2 separate regions of the Homo sapiens genome follow, and region 1 is linked to region 2. The links are contacts of gene promoters, found by promoter capture Hi-C in blood cells and fetal thymus (Javierre and others, 2016). All regions are on one chromosome and are shown on one strand. Each heading gives the region's core, a stretch centred on a gene start or on the middle of the fragment in contact. The rest is flanking DNA. Distances are from core to core; before and after follow the strand shown. Region 1 has its middle 23 kb from the start of TMEM179. Region 2 holds the start of ASPG (asparaginase).

Region 1 (6,004 bases), core at 2,935-5,434, 540 kb before region 2:
TTTATGGTTCCATTCCTTTCTTGGGTTTGTGGTGTGGCTGGTTTCGTGTTTCTTGATTTAGATTCTTAACTCAAGAATTTTAACTATCTATTATATTACAATATGTGCAGTTTTAGGTTACATATTTCCCTTCCCAGCATTACTTCAGCTGCATCTCCTTAGACTGTGCTGCTTCACTGTGCTTTTCTCTTCTTTCTGATCCTTATTAGTTTTTATGATTTTCAGTTGTGAAGTGGAAAATCTTCCACTCTGATGTCAACTTGTCAATTTTTCATTGTAATCTGAACCTTTTTTATTTATATATTTGAGCTATGTTTGTCATTCTACGGTAATCTCTGAATCTTTACTAATGCTTTTTTACTTGACATTTATTTTGTTTGGTATTAATATAACTTCATAAACTTAAAGAGAATAAAGTATTTGCTAATTTTTAAAATTTCTTCTTGAAACCTAAATTGTTGGTGTTTCTGTATTTTGCATCTCTTAGGAAAGCGTATAGCTGGATTTGGTTTTGTCGAAGCTCTATTTTAACTTGCAAGTTCAGTTTATTCATATTTATTGACACATTTGGATTCACTTCTGCAATTTTATTTTGTGATTTTTATTTCTTGTGATTTTCCTTGGCTTCTTTCTCCCTCGTTTTCTGTTTTCTGTGGGGCTGAGGCATTTTTTTCCTTCTTCCTTTTTCTTTCCAAATTCTGTTTTTATTTTTAGTAGATACATGCATACTTGGCTTAAAGTCTAAACGCAATCAAAATCTATACAATCCTCTAGAATATTAAAAGGACGTTGGAATATTTGAATGGTAATTATACTATTCTGTATGTGTTTTTCTGAACTGTTATTTTAGTTTCATCTTATTTCTTGTTTTCATATCACAAAATTTGTCCTTATCATCATTTAATAACGATTAATCTCATTTGGATTTACTTACATATTTTATATTTTCTCCTCACCACTACTTTTTTTTTCTTTTTTGAGGCAGAGTCTCACTCTGTCACCCAGGCTGAAGTGCAATGGCACGATCTCAGCTCATTTCAACCTCCGCCTCCTGGGTTCAAGCGATTCTCGTGCCTCAGCCTCTTGAGTAGATGGGATTACAGGCTCCCACCACCATGCCTGGATAATTTTTGTATTTTTAGTAGAGACATGGTTTCACCATGGTGCCCAGGCCGGTCTTGAACTTTTGACTTCAGGTGATCCACTGGCCTTGGCCTCCCAAAGTGCTGGGATTGCAGGTGTGAGCCACCATGCCTAGCACCCCACCACTACTTCTTGACTCTCACTCCTTCCTTTGGATTTAATTTGTTTCTCTCTGAAAAATATCCTTTAGGAATTCTTTCAGTGAAGGAATGTGATTGTTCAATTTTTAATTTTTGTTTGTTGAAAGTGTTTTAAAAAATATAGTTGCCACCCTGACTGGCAATGTTGTTGGGTATAAAATTCCAGGTTGACACATACTTTCTCTCAGCATGGTGAAGACATTTCCTCACTCTGTTCTGGCTTCTATTGTTGTTGTTAAGAAGTCAGCTGAATTATAGTTCCCTTGTAGGTTATCTGCCAATATGGGCTAAATTGTGCCCCACTCCCCAGGATGACATCCCAATCCCCAGTACCTCAGAATGTAATCGTGTTTGGATAAGGTCTATAAAAGGTAATTAAGTTAAAAACGAGGCCACTGAGGGGGATCCTAATCCAATCTGACTGGTGTCCTTATAAGAAGAGGTAGAGACACACGGAGGAAAGGCCATGGAAGAGCATACTGGGAAGGTGGCTATCCGCCAGGCAAGGAGAGAGGCCTCAGCACAAACCAAACCTGCCAACACCGACAGCTTGAGCTTGGACTTCCAGCCTCCAGGACTGAGAAAAGGAATTTCTGTTGTTTAAGCCTCCCAGTCTGTGGTATTTTGTTATGGCAGGCCTAGCAAACCAATACTTCTGGTTTTTGCTGTTTACTCTGTTTTTTTTTTTTTTTTTTTTTTTTCTTTAGACAGAGTCTCACTCTGTTGCCCAGGCTGGAGTGCAGTGGTGCAATCTCGGCTCACTGCCACCTCCACCTCCACCTCCCGAGTTCACGCCATTGTCCTGCCTCAGCCTCCCGAGTAGCTGGGACTACAGATGCCTGCTACCACGCCTGGCTAATTTTTTTTGTATTTTTAGTAGAGACGGGGTTTCACCATGTTAGCCAGGGTGGTCTCGATCTCCTGACCTCGTGATCCACCCGCCTCGGGCTCCCAAAGTGCTGGGATTACAGGCATGAGCCACCGTGCCCGGCCTGCTGTTTACTCTTAATATATTCTCCTTGTCATGATGTTCTGCAGTTATACACTGAGATATAATTAGGAATGTGATTAATTTTATTTATTCTGCCTAGAACTTATTAGGAATTGTGAATCTGAGAATCCCTGTCTTTCATCAATTCTGGAAACCTCTCAGCCATTGTATCTGTGAAGAAAAGAATGACTGTGGCAAGCCTGAGACTGCTCACCCTTAGAAAGGCTACTCACAAGGATGGCCTTGGCCAAACATGGATTTCAGGAGGGTGCTTGTCATTTCTAGAACTGACAAGAGTGAGTGGCTCATTGTCTCTAAACAGTTTGTGCAAATAGTAAAGTTAGTTTATGCTAAACACCTGCTTTTCTTCTGGGAGCCTGGAGTTTTGGTATGTGCTAGGCAGGGGGTGCCTGTGTGACCAGCTGGAATCCCTGGGTACTGCAACTCTGATGAGCTGCTTTGGTAGACAATAACTCACCTGTGTCATCACAATTTGTTGCTGGGGGAATTAAGTTCATCTTATGTGACTATTATTAGGAAAGGAGTTATATTAGTTCATTTTTGCATTGCTATAAAAATACCTGAGACTGGGTAATTTATAAAGGAAAGAGGGTCACTTGGCTTATGGATCTGCAGGCTGTACAGAAAGCATGATGTTGGCATCTGCTCAGCTTCTGAGGTGGCCTCAGGAAGCTTCCAATCATGGTGGAAGGAGAAGGGGGAGTAGGTGCGTCACATGGAGAACAGGAGGAAGAGACTGAGTGGGGAGGGGCTACATACTTTTAAGCAGCTCTATCTCATAAGAACTCACTCATCATCATGAGGACAGTGCCAAGGGGGATGGTGCTCAACCATTCATAGGAAATCCACCCCCATGATTCCAGCACCTCCTGCCAGGCCGCACCTCCAACATTGGGGATCACAATTTGACATGAGATTTGGGTGGGGACACAGATCTAAACCATATCAGGGCTCCTGGAAACTTGTGCCTTGTTTCCTCCAGATTTCACCCCATGAGACTTTTCCCTTTGCTGATTTTTCTGTGGATTCTTTTGCCGTGATAAATCTTAGCCATGAGTATGACAATGTGCTGGGTCTTGTGAATCCTTTTAGCAAATCTCATGTTTGGGGGTGGTTTTGGGGACCGGCACACGGTCTCTCAAACATGGTCTCAGTTCTATTCTCTCTTGGAGCTCCAATTAGAGATAAGGTAAACTTCATTCTTTCCTTCTTGACGCTCTTTCATATCTTCCCTCTTTTCATTTCTTTGCTCTGCCTGCTGGATGATTTCTTCAGACCTTTACAGATAGTAATTTTCTCTACAGCTGTGTCTTAACTTCTATGAATCTATTCACTGATTTTAAAAATTCTAATGACCATAGTTTTCTTTTGAATGTTTTTATAATTTATATATTTATTCATTATTCCTTCAATTATTTATAGCAGTATAGACCCATGAATTCTGATTTTAGCTATTTTAGTTCAATGTGATTATTATTTATGTTGTTGTACAGATTTCCCAGCCGATGCCATTGGGAGCTACTTTTGGCCACCCCTGTGTTCTTTTGACACATCCCTCTCATTTTTTTGATTACTTCTGTAGTTCAAGATTATGATTTTTCCCTTCTCCAGTTATTTCTCCAAGCAGCTCTGGTTCTTTTAATAAATTTTAGTTACTTATTTATGTTTGAGCATGTGAAGCATTAACATGGTTCTAAAAGTCAGAACAATAGAAAATAAAAGTGCCCACAGTGTCTCTCCCCCACTTGCTACCCTGTTCCCATTCCCCCATCTTTTCCACTCCTTTGGTTTATCCAAGCCTCTATAGCCAAACAACCTTATATGTTTCTCGTTTATTATTCTTGTATTAGTCCATTCGTACACTGCTATAAGGAACTATCTGAGAATGGGTAATTTGTTAATATAAAGAAAAGAGGTTTAATTGACTGACAGTTCTGTAGGCTATACAGGAAGCATGGCTGGGAGGCCTCAGGAAACTTACAATCATGGTGGAAGGTGAAGGAGAAGCAAGCACATCTTCACATGGCTGTAGGAGAGAGAGAGAACAAAGTGGGAGGTGCTACACACTTTTCAAACATCAGATCTGGTGAGAACTCTATAGGAGATGGCACTAGTGAGGTGTTGCTAAACCTTTAGAAATCACCCCCATGATCCTGTCACCTGCCCCCAGGACCCCACCTTCAACACTGGGAATTACAATTCAACATGAGATCTGGGTGGGGACACAGAGCCAAACCATATCACTGTGTTTCTTTTTGCACAAAAGAGTAGCTGCATGTTTAATTTCCTGTTTCCATTTACTTCTTACACAAAGAGAGCATTCTATAGATGCTGTTCTGCTCTTTGCTTTTATAATGTAAAAAGTTCATCTGGAAGCCACTCACAGAGTTGAGTTCTTAGGAGTCTTTATCACTCTTTTTCAAAGCTGCATAGAACTTCATTGCATGAATGTATTATGGTTTATCCACTACTCTCCAGTTGCCTGATATACAGGGTTTCCCCATATAGGCTGCAATGAATAACTCTGGGCTTACGCAGTTTCCGTGTGGCTCCCCAGAGGTGGGATAGCCGGGTGGAAATGTGACTACAGGCCACAGTTTGGTAAGATACTCCAAATTCCGGCTGGGCCTGGTGGCTCACGTCTGTAATTCCAGCATTTTGGGAGGCCGAGGCCGGAGGATCACCTGAGGCCAGGAGTTTGAGACCAACCTGGCCAACATGGTGAGACCCCTCTCTACTAAAAATAAAAAAAAAAATTAGCTAGGTGCAGTGGTACGCACCTATAATCCCAGCTATTCGGGAGGCTGAGGCAGGAGAATCGCTTCAACCTGGGAGGCGGAGGTTGCAGTGAGCTGAGATGGCGCCATTGCCCTCCAGCCTGGGCGACAGAGCGAGACTCTGTCTCAAAAAAAAAAAAAAAAAACAACTCCAAATTCACCTCCTAAAGGCTTGTAGCAGTTTACACTCCCACTAGTAATGTATAAGAGTTACTGTTTCCCACAGCCTTGCCAACAGAGTATATTGTCATGCTTTGTAATTTCTATCCATATGAGAAGGTATCTTAGTGTAGGTTTTTAAGTGTGAAATATAATAACATAAAGCTTACCATTTTAACCATTGTAAGTGAACAGTTCAGTGGCGTTAACTACATTCATATCGCTCAGCAACCATCACCACCATCCATCTCCAGGCTAAAACTGTAAATTGTGTGTGTGTGTGTGTCTGTGTGTGTGTGTGTGTGTGAATATAAAATGCACCCACTGGCTCTACTGGAGCCGCTGTGTTGTTTAGATCTTCTGTGTTCTATGTGGCAGCCAGGGAGGTGAGCTGCTCAGATCTCCTTTCCAGAAGCATTTGTCTCTCTGCTGGAGAGGAGCAGTTAGCCAATGGCCTGCAGCTGTAGCCCCTTCCGGGGCTGCCACAATGCTTGCAGCAGGCCTTGTTCTTCCTGGGCAGCCTCAGGCAATGGCAGGGGCAGGCATGGGATGAGGACCTGGCCAGTTTTGTTCACCTGGGCCTTTCATGCAGTCTTTGCCTTAAACCTCCCCCAGGGTTGTTGAGACTTTGTGAGACATACGTCTCAGCCCCCGGCTCTGCCTGTCCAATCCTGTGCCTGCTTCACCTTCACCTTCCGTAGGTGCTGCCCCTAATGCACCTCTTACATCCTGACTTCAGCGCCTGCCTGCTTCCTGGCGGACACAAGCCGACC
Region 2 (6,456 bases), core at 2,909-5,408:
TCCTGCCTTAGCCTCCCGAGTAGCCGGGATTACAGGCATGCACCACCACACCTAGCTAATTTTTTATTTTTAGTAGAGACGGGGTTTCGCCATGTTAGCAAGGCAAGTGAACCACCCGCCTTGGCCTCCCAAAGTGTTGGAATTACAGGCCTGAGCCACCATGTCTGGCCAAACGTTCCTTTTTCAAACCTATACTGTCGCCAGTAAAGTTTTCTTACCAACCTGCGAGTGGACCACTTTCCAACTCTGGGGCTCCAGCACTCACCCCGCAGTCAATGTGTTGTACGTCAGCAGCCATTCTAACAGGTATGTAGTGGCATCAGTTTTTTTTGTTTGTTTGAGACAGGGTCTCACTCTGTCACTCAGGCTGGAGTGCAGTGGCGAGATCTCGGCTCACTGCAACCTCCACCTCCTGGGTTCAAGCGATTCTCATGCCTCAGCCTCCCCAGTAGCTGGGACCACAGGCATCTGCCACCACATCTGGCTAATTTTTTTTTTGTATTTTTAGTAGAGACAGGGTTTCACCATGTTGTCCATGGCTGGTCTTGAACTCCCGATCTCAAGTGATCCACCCACCTCAGCCTCCCAAAGTGCTGGGATTACAGGTGTGAGCCACCGCGCCCAGTCAGCTGGGGCAATTTCTTTTGTTATTTTAAATAAACACCAGCTTTCAGCCGGGCACGGTGGCGGGCGCCTGTAGTCCCAGCTACTCGGGAGGCTGAGGCAGGAGAATGGTGTGAACCCGGGAGGCAGAGCTTGCAGTGAGCTGAGATCGCGCCACTGCACTCCAGTCTGGGCGACAGAGTGAGACTCCATCTCAAAAAAATAAAAATAAATAAAAAATAAACAAACACCGGCTTTCACACCTAACTATGATTTTGTAACTTGTATTACTTTTCTCAATGAGGGCCCTCCAAAAGCTTCAAGGGCTGCAGAATCTGAACCCTCCAGCCCTGCCTGGAACCTCTTCCTTGGCCCATCCAGGCAGGTGCCTGAGTTTGCTGGTGACTTGGAAACTCCTCAGCCCCCTGCCAAACACCTGGAAAGGAGGCTTTGCTCTCTAAGACAATGGGCCCCACTGTCACCAGCGAAGTCAAGCTTAGGCTTAGAAACTTGTGAACGTGTAGCACCCATTCAGGAAGGAGGTCCAGGCCAAGGGCACAGACGCCACTGCAGTAACCAAGAAGCCATGGGCATCACTCCACTGACACTCTCGACTGCTGGGACCCGTGTGGTCACCGGGCAGGGAGCTTCTCTCAGCTGCCTGGCCCCAGATCTCTGCCCTCCCTGCTGTGCCTGCAAGGAGCCGGGCTCAGGAGGGACTTTGGGACAGGCCGGCAAGCAGGTGGGGTTCCCAGTTTGACATAGGAAGTCTTCAAGTTTCTCGGGTGTACAGAACGTGGCCACTGATGCCAGCTTGGGCTTGGGGTTATCAGCCGTGTTTGGATTCGCTATGCCCCTTGACCTGTGATAGCTTCAATGAACTCAGAGAAGGGATGGGTCAAGGGGCGTCCCCACTGGCATCACCTCTGCCCTCCCTGAACTCTGGCAGGGCTCCAGGTGTGCAGCGTTCCACCCACAGGTCACTGTTTACCAGCAGGCGCAGAAGCCGTTCCAACAGCGACAATCAAACAGCTTTACTAGGGCAAAGCCACCACTCCCCTCTCACCTCCCCAGGGAAGGCCAGAGCCCACGTCAGCAGTGTGGAGGGAGTAAATCATTGACGCCTGACAGTCTGGCTGCTCCAACCTCACGAGGGGTTGGGGGAGCCCATTCCTGCAGGTTCCTGGAAGTGGATGCCCCACATGGGTCAGCTAGCAACAGCTGGGGGTGACCTCGCAGCCACACGAGGACGGGCTGCTGAGCAGAAGCCAGGACCCCAGTGCACAGAGCACCAAGGGATCTCAGAAGGCTGCTTCAGGTCTGAAGACTGACGCCCCACACCCAATTTCCAGCCTCCAAGTCTCTTGTTTCCCACCCAGACACAGGACCTCACAGCCTCTTTCAGAAATGCGGTGCACGCGTGTGAGTGCACCCACAGGCTGCTGCGGCGAGCACGCGGGGGCCAAGCGAGACGGGTGTGTGGTGGGGTTACAGAGTCCACCTGCCCCTGCAGCTCGGACCACTCAAGAACTACATGTTGAGCTCAACGAAACTGCAGTTGGCCACACTCCAAGCCTGAAGGGGTAGCGTCAGGGGCGTCGGACGAGGCCCCACACAGAGTCCCCAGGTCCTGTCCCCACTCGGGGGCAGCTCTGGCAGGCTCCGGCCCTGCTGGGCTCCCCACTCCTCTTTCCTGCACCTTGCAGGGCTGCTCCTGGCCTGGCCCTCTCCCATCTTTGTCCTGCAGGCCTTGTGTCCTCAGAGAAGCCCTCCCTGGGCTGCCTCCAAACTCCACACCATCCACACACCCAGCTCAGACCCTGTTATCAGCCCACAGCCCCTACAGGGCCCTGGCAGATCCTGCCCCTGGGACTAGCTCCTTAATGCATGCCATCCCTTCAATGGCAGCCTCTCTCTCTAGCTTGTGAGGGCCAAGCACAGGAATTGTGTCACTCTGTGTCAGTGGAGTGTCACACAGGGGCGTTTGCCAAGCTGTGAATGACTTTGTTCCATTCACAGGCAGAAGGAGAAGTGCAGAGGAGGCTCCCGGCAGCCTGGACAGCCACGTTCTTGGGGACCTGAGTCCCTCGTGGACGAGCCCCACTAGGCTTTGTCTCCTGGGCTGGGCGCAGAGTGGGCCTCCAGAGGGGTCTGCACCGGCCACAGTGTGGTGGGTGGAATCTGAGAGCACCGACAGAGTGCTGGTGGCTTCTGAGCAGCCACTTCAGCAGAAAGGGGTGGCCAGGAGGGGCAGCTGCCAGGGAACAGGCCGTGAGAGGGGGTGGGGATAGGAGGGGCGGGGAAGTGGTTGGCAGATGGGCAAGGGACAAGAGAATGTTCTGGTCATGCCAGGGGAGGCCCTGGGCTCTGGCAGAGCCGGAGAGGGTCCCAGCCGTCCCAGGAGAGAGAGCTGCGCTGGACACAAGCAGGAGTGTGGGGAGGGGCCAGGGCAGCAGGGAGTGGGAGGAGGAGGAGTGGAAAGGGCTCCTGAGGGAAAGGCAGGCAGTGGCCCATGGAGGGTCGCAAACAGGTTCAAGACGGGGCGAGGGGGCTGTCCTGGCCCCAAGGGAGGCCCCACATCACAGCAGAGCCCATCTGGGGGCCCCAGGCAGTGTCCTGCCCTCCTGGGGAACACCCAGGCATTCTGGAGGCTCCAGTGCAACCGTCCTCTCCCCATCCCGGTGGCCTCAGGCTCCCCAAGCTACCATCCTTCCTGTGCCCAGCCCAGGCTGGCAGCACTGTGCTGGAGTACCACAGAGCTCGGTGCCTGTCCCAGGCCCTGACCCCACCCAGGCAGAACTCAGTCCAGACGCAATCGCTGGTCTCTGGTCAACCAGGTCCACACAGGGGCAGAGGAAGCAGGGCTCTGAGGCCACCTCGGGTGTGAACACGTGCGTCCCCGCAGATGCCAGGTAGCCCCAGTATCGTGCCAACCACTGCTGCCTGACCAGGACCCCAGGGGACGGGGACACCCTCCTGGGTGTCGCAGTTGAGGGGTCCTCGCAGCCTCCTAAGCCTTCTCCAGGGCAGCCTCCTAAGCCTTCTGTGTCCAGAGCAGGAGCGGCAGGCCAATGCCCTGGGGCCCTCCCGCCCCATATTCCAGGACTTCAGGACGCTGGCCCTCAGGGGCGCAGCGGCAGCACAGGGGGCCTGGCCCCAGGGTCGCAGGGCGCTCCCGGGAGCACCGCGACGGCGAGAACCCACCGCAATCTCCTCTGTCCAGGTCGGGGCTCCATGCGTGGGGACGCCGGTGGCCGGAACCGGAGGAGAGCGACCTCAGCCCGCACCCCCCATCCAGGCGCGGATTTGACTCCCCAACGACCCCCGTGGGTGCAGGAGGGTCCGAGGCTCCCGGTCGCGGCCAGGTCCAGAGGCCTACCCCGCCCAGGGTCTCGGACTCACCGCCGAGCTCACTCCGCATGCCAATGGTGCCGCCGGTGTAGACGGCCAGCAGCCTCCGCTCGGGCCCCACCGCGCGCGCCATGCCGGACCGGGGACCACGGGAGTGGACGGGGGTGTGCAGCGGGGACGCAGGGCCTGCGGGACTCAGGGACTGCGCGGAGGAGGCCCGGGGCGCCGGGGGCAGCCTGGGAGGGCGGGGCCGGCGGGGGCACCCACGGGGAGGGGGCGGGAGTGGAGTCTGCCCGGGAGGGTGGGAGGCCCCGCGGAGGCGGGCGGGGGCAGGACCTGGGGGCGGGGTGGGTCCCGGGGACTGTCCAGGGTCGGAGAGAGAGGCGGGGCCTGGCGGGGTGGGGGCGGGGCCTGGCGGGGTGCGGGGCGGGGCCTGGCGGGGTGCGGGGCGGGGCCTGGCGGGGTGCGGGGCGGGGCCTGGCGGGGTGCGGGGCGGGGCGCGGCCTTGGAAACGTGTAGGAAGAGGTGAGGTCTGTGAGGGCGGCAGGGGGAGCTCCTGCCTGGGCAGGAGATTGGCTGGGGCCTGCTTGGGGCTGGGGAGCGCCTGTCCAGGGACTAGGGGGCAGCCAGAAAGGCAGCGACAGGGGTGGGGCGGGTCCTGAGCCATCCTGCGGCCATTGGCCCTCCGTGGCGGCCCTGGGTGTTTGAGTAGCTGTGACATGTGGTGCCTGGCAGACCGTAGTGCCCGAGGCCCTCCACGACCTGAGCACAGAGGGGGCTCCGTGTCCTGTCAAGCAGCCTCCACAGCCCCGGGGCTCCAAGGCCGGCATTGCTGCCCAGGCCCTGCTGTCCCTCCTTTGGATGGCCAGAGGCAGGCAGAGCTGGACCAGCCCCTCCACATGTGCCCATTCACACACCATCCAAGAGAAGAGCCCGAGGGGCCCCCAAGGGCTGGAGCGGGACAGAGCAGGAGTATGGCCTTCTTGGACAAACACCGCCATTTTAGGTTCCCTTTGATTAAAAAGCTGCCTAAATCCAGCCCAAAACACATCAGCCCAATAGCTAATGTCAGCACGACCGTAAACCACAAATAACATCTCCAATCAGAAACATGCCAACCTCGAGATAACCTCCCCTCCGACCAGAGACATTCCAAGCCCGCAATAAACTTTCCCTCACATAGAAACATTCCGAGCCTGCGATAAGCTCCCCACTTCCTAAACCCTTAAAGATCCTTAGTCTGTAGGAGAGATGGCTCCTGACCAAAATCGGCCAGAAGTCCCTTTCAGGTTTATTCTCCAAAATAAACCTGCCTTTGTTGAGCCGCTTTTCATGTTTCTTTCCTCTTTCTTTAACTCCTACAGAGCCCACCCTCCTTCACTCCCATGAGAGCCCAGGAGGGCAGGGCACTGGCGGGTGCAGGGTCCCAGGAGGGTCCCAAGCTGCAGGCTTGCTCCCAGGTGGACAGAAGATCCGCGGCCTCCTCGTCTCCTGGCACCTTGACTGCCTGGGGCACTGATGCACTTTGGTGGGAAACTGTGTGTTGCCCCCAGAAGGCACCAGCATTTGACACTGATTCCATAATAAAAATTATTATTATTCTGTTGCCTGGAGGGCAGTAGCAAGATCTTGGCTCACTGCAACCTGTGCCTCCCAGGTTCAAGCAATTGTCTTGTCTCAGCCCCCTCCCCGAATAGCTGGGATTGCAGGTGCACACCACACCAGGCTAATTTTTTTTTCTTTTTTTTTTTTTGTATTTTTAGTAGAGACGGGGTTTCACCATGTTGGCCAGGCTGGTCTTGAACTCCTGACCTCAGGTACTCCACCCACCTCAGCCTCCCTAAGTGTTGGGATTACAGGTGTGAGCCGCCATGCCCAGCCCCATATAATTATTTTGATAACAACAGTGCAATAGTGCAAAAGTAATCTTGTCTGCAGAGAAGCAAAGGCATTCTGCCCAGCAAAGGTCTGTGTTAGTTTTCTGGGACTGCAGTAACAGAACGAGTGATTTACAGTGCAAGGAGGTCTACCTCTCACAGTTCTTGGGGGTGGAAGTCTAAGGTCAGGGTGTCACAGGTTGGTGTCTCCTGGGCAAGCAGATGGTGCCTTCTTGCTGTGCCTCACAGGGTCTTTCCTCTGAGCAGTCACGCATCCCTGATGTATCTCCAGATGTCCAGACTTTCTCTTTTTATAGACATACCAGTCAGATTGAATTTGGGGCCTCATTTTAATTCAACCATCTCTTTAAAGTCTACCTCCAAATACAGTTGCATTCTAAGACACTGGGGTGTGGGGGACTTGAACATTAGAATCTAAGGGAGACAATCCAGCCCATCACAGCCCCCTGAAAATCCAGTTTCAGGTCCATTTGCACAATCATGTCAATATTCCTCATCTGTAAGTGTCTGTTTCAGGACTTCTCTTCTGAGCTGGTCCTCACAGCTGCCTGGGCTAGGGAAGCTCTTCGACGCATGCTCACCCTGCATCCCTGTGAGCACCATG

Evidence for each region. Contacts are between HindIII fragments. The CHiCAGO score rates a contact against its expected background, and 5 or more counts as called.
Region 1: a fragment that was not itself captured here is called in contact with the fragment with the promoter of ASPG in region 2 in 8 of 17 cell types (endothelial precursors, total B cells, M0 macrophages and 5 more); the score reaches 13.1 in endothelial precursors.

What each region holds. Positions count from the first base shown.
Region 1 is chr14:104,624,878-104,630,881 of GRCh38, reverse strand. No RefSeq gene overlaps it. Among named protein-coding and RNA genes, the nearest start is that of TMEM179, 23 kb to the right of the region's middle. The HindIII fragment of the contact is 2,429 bases long and covers 2,970-5,398 here.
Region 2 is chr14:104,083,402-104,089,857 of GRCh38, reverse strand. ASPG (asparaginase) reads right to left here and starts at 4,158. Exons shown (of 16, transcript NM_001080464.3): 1 at 4,006-4,158. The coding sequence starts at 4,087. LOC124903408 reads right to left here. Exons shown (of 2, transcript XM_047432050.1): 2 at 6,163-6,456. The HindIII fragment of the contact is 21,966 bases long and covers 1,101-6,456 here.